2 separate regions of the Homo sapiens genome follow, and region 1 is linked to region 2. Evidence: promoter capture Hi-C in 16 types of primary human blood cells and fetal thymus (Javierre and others, 2016). All regions are on one chromosome and are shown on one strand. Each heading gives the region's core, a stretch centred on a gene start or on the middle of the fragment in contact. The rest is flanking DNA. Distances are from core to core; before and after follow the strand shown.

The links. The method cuts DNA at HindIII sites, captures the fragments that hold promoters and counts their contacts. A CHiCAGO score of 5 or more calls a contact.
Region 1: a contact is called between a fragment that was not itself captured here and the fragment with the promoter of GPRIN3 in region 2, in 1 of 17 cell types (total CD4 T cells). The highest score is 6.0, in total CD4 T cells.

Annotation. Positions count from the first base shown.
Region 1 is chr4:88,817,260-88,821,256 of GRCh38, reverse strand. The region is part of intron 7 of FAM13A (family with sequence similarity 13 member A); the gene reads left to right. Among named protein-coding and RNA genes, the nearest start is that of FAM13A-AS1, 110 kb to the right of the region's middle. The HindIII fragment of the contact is 1,690 bases long and covers 554-2,243 here.
Region 2 is chr4:89,305,661-89,310,297 of GRCh38, reverse strand. It overlaps GPRIN3 (GPRIN family member 3), which reads left to right and starts at 2,498. Exons shown (of 2, transcript NM_198281.3): 1 at 2,498-2,683. RefSeq lists silencers at 2,419-2,488, 2,499-2,548. The HindIII fragment of the contact is 16,857 bases long and covers 1-4,637 here.

The DNA.
Region 1 (3,997 bases), core at 149-2,648, 490 kb after region 2:
CAATCTTTACTGCCAGCCTGTACCTACCTTTGGTTATAAACCTCCTGAAGGTAAAGACCAGGTTTGTGCGGTTGTCTTTGTTAAGCGTGCCTTGTGAATTTAAGCATTTGTGTAGAAAACTTTCCCGCCCTTACGTGTAATTGTTTCTTCAAATCCCAGTTTGGTATCTTTGGCTATTGATTTCTGTGACTCTCGTGGTAATGATGACTATTGCGGACTCTCCCCACCGTTATGGGCCTGAAGCAGGAAGGTTCCAGAGCCTTAGCAGTATTCTTGGAAGGAGTGCTTTGTTCCATTCTGTTTAAGAGCACCAAGGGATAGAAACTACATTGAAATTGGATGTGTAAAAGAATAGCTTTAAATAGCAGCTAAAGAAATTCATGCTCACTGTTTGTATTTAGCAGAGAGTTCAATGCTTCTCATACTTTGAGTGCATGAGAATTACCTAAGGAACTTATTTTTCAAATCAAATCCTTCCTGTTGCCCTCCTTCCCTAGACTCACTGCATCCAAATCTGGAGGTAGCAGAGAGAGCATCTGCATTTTAACAAGCTTCCTAAATCTAATGCAGATGGTCCACTCGTAGAGAAACACTGATCTAAATTCTAGTTAATGATTATAGCGCTTATAAAGCTAGTGACAGCTGGCATATATAGGAATCTAGCATTATACTACTCAACATCTCCAAATAGCATATTTAATATCTGACCTTATGTGAGGATTTTTTCATAATTGATGCTTTCATTTCCTAAATTGTCAGTTTTACCTATTAAAACAAAACATACTTAGAGTGTTGTTTAATATTTTCTCTTTGACTGAACACTACTCTGTACTGCCAGTTATCCTAAGGTAATTAAGACACAGCTCTCCTTCAAAGAGGTCACATGCTAGTTAGGATGCAGACACATTACCAGACAATTACAGTACCATGTGGTGAATTCAGTAATACACAGTATGATTAGCATAGTAATAATAGAGATGTGCCTAGATGGATAATATTATCCTGTGTATTATTTAACCCCGTGTAAGTGTGTGATTTTATTAGGGGCATGTTTGTACCCTAATGTCTACTTAACTTACAGTTTTCATAAATGCCTCTTTAGCCTTTCTTAGCGTATTGTGAGAGTGTATAGAAGATACGTTGTTACTGCTAATCTGTAGCCAAGATGAGAATGACAGATAAGGTCAAAAACTAAAAATGAAATAAAATGTGTCTTGCTATCTGTTTATTACTGAATGTTATTGGCAGAGTTTCCAGGATGGAGTTGGCTGTTTAGAAACTCATGATCTTTAGAAAAAACATGGCAGAGGCTGAATGTTTAAATTACAACCTTCTGTAAAGTCCTCAGTTCTTAATGATTCACTACATGGCTTAAAGACAGGATCTTATTAACTATCTCTATTGAGATAATTAAACAGTCCCAGTTATTTTTTAAAATACTAAAATATTTACATACTACTTATAGCTAATAATGAAACTCAACATAGTGTATCAACTTATATGGATATTCTTAGCATCGGAAAAAGTTCCTTGAGAAAAATAAAATAATATCAGAAATAAAGGGAGGGAGAAACTATATTAAACTAAGAATTGAAATATAAGTTTTCTCAGGTGACTAAATTTACCTTCTGTCACTAATGAGATAATCTGTTTTGTCAGATCTCAGGCCTAGTTTGTACCACAGGCTCTTTGTACAATTCATATTTCATTGAGTTTTCTTCCCCTTAGGTATTGTGGGGATGTAGGTAAGGATCTCTATTTTATGTATAGAAAGACTCAAGCAGGCTAAGATACAAAATTTTAACTCTGAGTCATAGCTATGACAAAACTCTCAACTTTCATTGCAGTATTTTAATTTGCTAGACTAACTTTCCAGTAAACTAACTGAATTTATATCCACAAGGAATAATGATGGCAGATGAGATGAAGTTATGAACCTGTGAGTGCTGATGATTGATGTGGATTCCTTTGATTTCAGTGCATTGACATCTGCTTTCATGTGTTGGCATCCTGTTCTTTCCTGGGTTTGTCTACCAAAGTGAGAAGCTGAAATCAATCATGTCTATGTAATTATTTTTTTCATGTAGCAAATAATGATATCCAGTGTATATTATTGAATATTTGTTTTATGATGGTGAAGCACATCATAATTCCAAATTGCAGTGGCTCTTCTTCAAAAAAGACTTAAAGACGATTAATAAACATGTATTAGTGACCCAATATCTAAAAGTTTCACTGAAGCTTCTTATCAGTAGAATTCATCAGTTCTTCCTAAGCATCGCTCTTTAGAATATCCTTTTGCCAACGTAAACGTTGATAACATGGGGATGGTATGGGAGTTCACCAGGGAAGAACCCAGGTAATGTTGGGCCAGCTTGTGAGTTTCTGTGTGGTGTTAGAGAGCCCTCTGCTGCTCGTGGAGATGACACCTTTCAGTTAATTTATCTAGAAGTCTCTGTTTTTCCTAACTTGTTGGCACTCTGGTAGCACTCCTGGCACTGCCCTCTCCCTCCACAAACACAGTCTGGGAGGGAGTTAAAAGCTGCCTCACTTTAAATCTGGGCCAGTGCCTATGGGTTGTGTGTCTGAATTTATGCTTTATCACTGTCAGTGAGAACAAATAAGATCTCTGTGGGCTCTGTTCTCACATGATGGTTTAATTACCCATGGAGCCCAAATATTTGCTAATTACTCCAAATAAAGAAGATAACATGAACTAAGGTGAGGATATTTTCAAATTTTAGGATCATCCTGTCTAAACCACTGAAAAAGTAAAGATGTTAACTATTCAGTACAAACCAGTGGTAAACTTGCCATCAGAAAACATATATAGACACTGACAGCTAGCTGGCCATATATGAATTTGAGCAGGTCATTTTCATTGTCTGTAAGAGATGATACCACCCAAGGTACTTATTTTATGAGGGAGATTTTGGAGTTAAAGAATGTGATAGGACTAGGCACAGTGGTTCATGTCTGTAATCCCAGCACTCTGGAAGGCCAAGTCCGGGGGGGATCACTGGAGGTCAGGAGTTTGAGACCAGCCTGGCCAACATGGTGAAATCCGTCTCTACTAAAAATACAAAAAGAAAAACAAAAAAAAAAATTATCTGGGCGTGCTGGCATGCTCCTGTAATCCCAGCTACTTGGGAGGCTGAGGCACAAGAATCACCTGAACCCTGGAGTTAGAGGTTGCAGTGAGCTGAGTTCATGCCACTGCACTCCAGTCTGTGCGACAGTGGAAGACTCTGTCTCAAGAAAAAGAAAAAGTGATAGTTTTGGTTTTGTGGGTTTTGTTTTGTTTGTTTTGTAAATGATGAAACTACTCAGATGTAAAGGGTATGTTGCTTTTCTTTTAGTTTTGTCTTCTTATGCTTGCAATACAGTTTCAATTCCATCAATGCAAAAGTGCTTAGCACAGTTCAGGTAGTGCTATATCATTGCAGTGCATTTCATCGCATCAATATTGGAAGATGACCTCTGGAATGGTTTGCAGGAAGTACTGTTGAAAATAGAATTGAACCAAATTTCTTGAAACTCTCAAAGCTTTCACCCTATTTTTTCCTATGAAACTTACATTTGTCTGTGGTGCAGAATGGATTCCCAATGGAATAGTATGTTCTGTATTAAACATTTTTAATGCACTATTTATTCTTACCTTAAGAAGAACTAGAAATAACTTTTTTTTTTTTTTGAGACAGAGTCTTGCTCTGTCCCCTAGGCTGGAGTGCAGTGGCACGATCTTGGCTCATTGCAACCTCTGCCTCCTGGGTTCAAGCAATTCCCCTGGCTCACCCTCCTGAGTAGCTGGGAGTACAGGCATGCACCACCATGCCCAGCTAATTTTTGTATTTTTCGTAGAGACGAGGTTTCACCATGTTGGCCAGGCTAGTCTCAAACTCCTGACCTCAAGTGATCTACCCGCCTCAGCCTCCCAAAATGCTGGGATTACAGGCATGAGCCACCATGCTTGGCTATAGAAATAATTTTTTAACAG
Region 2 (4,637 bases), core at 1,249-3,748:
AGTTGGTGATACTTTGTTGGCAGCAACAGGAAATGAATACAGTAAGATAGTACAAACAGACCTAGACAGAACTAGAGATAGGTCACAACCTAGTCCCTACCACACATATAATATATTAAATGTATAATCTCAGGAAAGTCACCCTATCTCAGTTTCCTTTCCTGTAGAGTGAAATTATATCTGCCTTACTGTGTTGTATAAAGACAAATAAAATTATTCACATGAACACTTTGCAAAGTGTTTCATCCTATACAAATGTTAGGCCTAAAACTTTGGCTTAGTTTGCTTAATGAGAGGGAGAACTGGAATAAAGACATCTGTGCTTAGCATATTTATGATATGAATACTATGATGACATAAATATTATGCCACAACCACTCCTGTCATAAAGATGTCCTTTTAGAAGCGGCCTAGTGTAGGGAAGATGACCCAGCTCCCTTCGTCTTCAACCAAAATGAACATGGCTAGCCGGAGAACCCAGACAGAGCCAGAGAATCCTTCTTAACCCACCTTCAGGAAGCAGCTATCAATTAACTACACCTGGCATAAAAGAAGAAACTTATTTAAAATCCCTGATCTAGGGGCTTAGAAAGTTTGATCTTTTTTTTTTTTTTTTAATACTTTAAGTTCTAGAGTACATGTGCACAACGTGCAGGTTTGTTACATATGTATACATGTGCCATGTTGGTGTGCTGCACTCATTAACTTCTCATTTACATTAGGTATATCTGCTAATACTATCTCTCCCCCCTCCCCCAACCCCACAACAGGCCCCGGTGTGTGATGTTCCCCTTCCTATGTCCATGTGTTCTCATTGTTCAATTCCCATCTATGAGTGAGAACATGCGGTGTTTGTTTTTTTGTTCTTGTGATAGTTTGCTAAGAATGATGGTTTCCAGCTTCATCCATGTCCCTACAAAGGACATGAACTCATCCTTTTTTGTGGCTGCATAGTATTCCATGGTATACATGTGCCACATTTTCCTAATCCAGTCTATCATTGACGGACATTTGGGTTGGTTGCAAGTCTTTGCTATTGTGAATAGTGCCGCAAAGTTTGATCTTTTGGCCAGTAGCATGGGCATTACCTGGGAGCTTGTTAGAAATGCCTATCCTGGGCCAGGCATGGCTCACGCCTGTAATTCCAGCACTTTGGGAGGCCGAGGCGGGCGGATCACCTGAGGTCAGGTGTTCCAGACCAGCCTGGCCAACGTGGAGAAACCCTGTCTCTACTAAAAATACAAAAATTAGCCGGGCGTGGTGGTGGGCGCCTGTAATCCCAGCTACTTGGGAGGCTGAGGCAGGAGAATCGCTTGACCCCGGGAAGCGGAGCTTGCAGTGAGCCGAGAGCGCGCCACTGCACTCCAGCCTAGGAGACGAAGCAAAAAACAAAAAACAACAACAACAAAAAACTAAAAAAGCGTTTCCTCAGTCCCTACCCCAGACCTATTGGATCACAATCAGCATTTTAACAAGACCCCCTAGGTGAGTCCTGTGTACTAGATGAGAGGATATATTTTGGATTGGTTTGAATCCCAGCTGAGCAGGTTACTACTGTGTGACCTCAAGCAAAGTGTTTAGATCATATAAGCCTGTTTCCTCGTCCACATGGTAAGGCACCTCAATGGGTTGTAGTAAGAATTAAAGAGGCTGAGGCTGTATGTAAGGCATTTTTCACAGAGCCTTCCAACAAATACCCAGTTAATAATGAAGCTCTTTTCATCGTATCATTTTGCACCATCTACAGCTGCTAACCATACTACACATCCATTCAGGATTCTGGAGCTGCTCAACAGGGAAGATTTCCAAAGCCCTCAAAGCCCTCCAAGCCCATGGGGTAGCGGGAAGGGGATGGGGACAGGAACACTGTCAGCAGTGCCTCTCCGAATACGCAGGATACTGTACATTTTGCAAAACATATTACTTATCGGATGATCTTGCTTTCAGATCTCCACTGCACGTGGCTTTATTGGAAACCTTCTGCTAGAGTCTAGACTCAGCCATGGAGTCTGGTGACCTGTGGGAGGGAGCAAGGGCCAGAATGCCTGCTAAATCGCTCTGGGTCCCCAGCCCTCTTCCTTAATCCCTTCTTAACTTTCCATCTGTCTCTGGTCTCCAGGGGTGCAGAACCACAACCCACCAGACCCCTCCTAGCTCCCGGCCCGGCGCTCAGCAGCCTGGGCTGCAACACTTTCCCCCAGGACCGGGAAGGCGGGGGAGGGGGTTTGGAGGGGGCGGAGCTCGGCCTCCTGCTGCCGCCGCTGCTGCTGCCGCCGCCGCCGCCTGCAAAGCTGTCGCCCCTCTCTCGGATGCTCAGGCTGGGCAGCGCTGGACAGATGGGTACACCCCGGGCCTGACGGATGAACAGTCGGGCAAGTGAACTCTCACCTCCAAACTGGCTCTGCGCCCGGCGGGGGCGGCGGCGGCGTCTGCAGCCCCGCGGTGGGGGCAGCCCCCTCGGTCTACGCCCGACTGCTGCGCGCCGCCTCTGCTCTTGGCATAGTAATTTCAGTTCCTGAACGCACGGAGCTCGCTCCGGGACCGGGCTGAGAAGGACCTCAGCTCGCGGGCCCGCCGGAGCCATCGGTGTGGCGCCGAGAGACGGTGCTTGGGATATGCGACGGGAAGCCCCCGCCACAGCGCAGGCAGTGGCCCCGCCGCGCCGCGGAGCCGGGCAGAGCAGGTAGGAGACGCCCCCTGCGCACCTCCGCCTGGCGGCCAGCGCGGGGGACCGGAGCCTGGTGGTGTGCTCTGTAGGGATGCGGAAGGGATTCGGTCCCACATTTTGCACAGGGATCCTTTGCCTGTTGCTCTTGTCTCTGTCCCATCCTGCGCTCTAGGAGGGGCAGTCTTTCTCGCAGGTGATGAATTTCTCTGCAAGGTCATTGCTCTCTTTGGCTCTGGCTTTGAAGGTAAATGGGAGAAGACGCCTGCTGATCGTGGGCAGGGAAATTTATAATCAATCGGGTCTGCACACTGCGAATATCCGAATATGAGGGGTGTGTGTGTGTGTGTGTGTGTGTGTGTGACATTTGTCTCATTTTCCTATGCTTATCCCCTTTAAGGTCAAAACATAGAAATATATATTACATATGGATGTATGTATGTGTGTGTATATACACACACATACATAAATGCATATGTAAATAGGTTTTCTTGAGGTAGGCAGAAAGAAGAGGAAGGGCGGGCAGGGGTTGATAAAGGGAAATCGTTGTAGAGACATGTTCACTAATAGAGGCGAACTTTGGAACCACATTAAATCAGGGTAGAGACTAGAGGTGATAAACGGTTCTTTCAAGATGGGCTTTAGAAGAGGTCTGAAGGAGCCTGTCAGCCAACACACACAGAAGATCTTCATGCTCTCCAGGCAGATGGAAACGATGTAGGCATCATTTCAGACGCAATAATGGACAGTGAAAGAGGGAAAAAAGGAGAGGTACTTAATATGCCACTGGGAAGTGAATTTTGGGTGATGGGAAGGCATCGAATCCAGACCAGGTTTCAAGGGCTTTCTGGAGGGCCATTGGGAGAAATCACCGCTTGGGGTGTAGGCAGTTCAAGGTTAAGACGATGTGAATGTCCACAAAGCAGCCGAGGAGGTGGGCAAAAGGCAAGGGCTTGGAGGGGGAGGGGAGAAACAGAGCTCTGAGCAGTCACTCAAGAAGCACCCACCTTTGAGTAAGGTGTCTTCTTCCTCTTGGTTAAAGCGGTACTTGGGTATGCTCCATCTAAATATTTTCACAACACATTTGTTTAAAGATCCATTGGACTATGTTTTTATTTTGTTTTTGCAAGGTATCTGGGTCATGGTGGGACTAGAAGAAACTGAAGTGTTTACAACACCAGCAAGATTTGGGAGAGAGGGTTGATTAAGGCTTTGCTTCATGAAATATTTACACATCTCCTGCGTGGGCTTTTGTTTGCTCTTGTTGGTGCTGCTGCATATTTTACTTTGATAATGCTTTGAGTGTACTTCGCCCGAATGTGCTTATTTTCCAGTTATAACCTATTCTTTCTTTTCCCATTGTGCTCACCATTGGCCTGCCCTGAGTAACAATTGTGGGAATAAAGGTACATGAGTCACAGCCCAAAGCAGAAAATCTCTGCTGCTATCTGCAAAAGACAGGAGTTTGCGTTAGAGAATGTTCTTTTTCGAGTTTTTGTGTGTGTTTAGTTTTTCAAGTTTTGTGTGTCTTTAATCGAGGGAATAGGTTATTGATTCAAAAGAGAAAAAAAAAACAGCAATTGCAATTGCAGGCCTAGATGTTATATGATTGAAATTTATTTTGGAAACAGCAGAGGAACTCATGGAGAGCCATGTACAGTGTGTTGTGGTGTGGTGAGCCTTCACCTAATCACTAACTAGACTTCTACGAAAATGATTAGGACAAAATCACAAGTGCATCAGCTTCACATGGGAAGTAGAGGACTGAGGCGTTGTATGAGTCAGATCAGTGTCAATTGGAGGGCAGGCTGGATTCCAGCAAGCTGTTTTGAAATTTGAGTGTTTTAATTGCCTCAAAAAAATTGCCCAATATGCTTAATTATTTGTTCCTGCAACATTTTCTTAATTATGCCTCAACATACTTAAAAGACTATATTTAGATCCAGCTATCCTTCACTGTTTGAATTTCCAG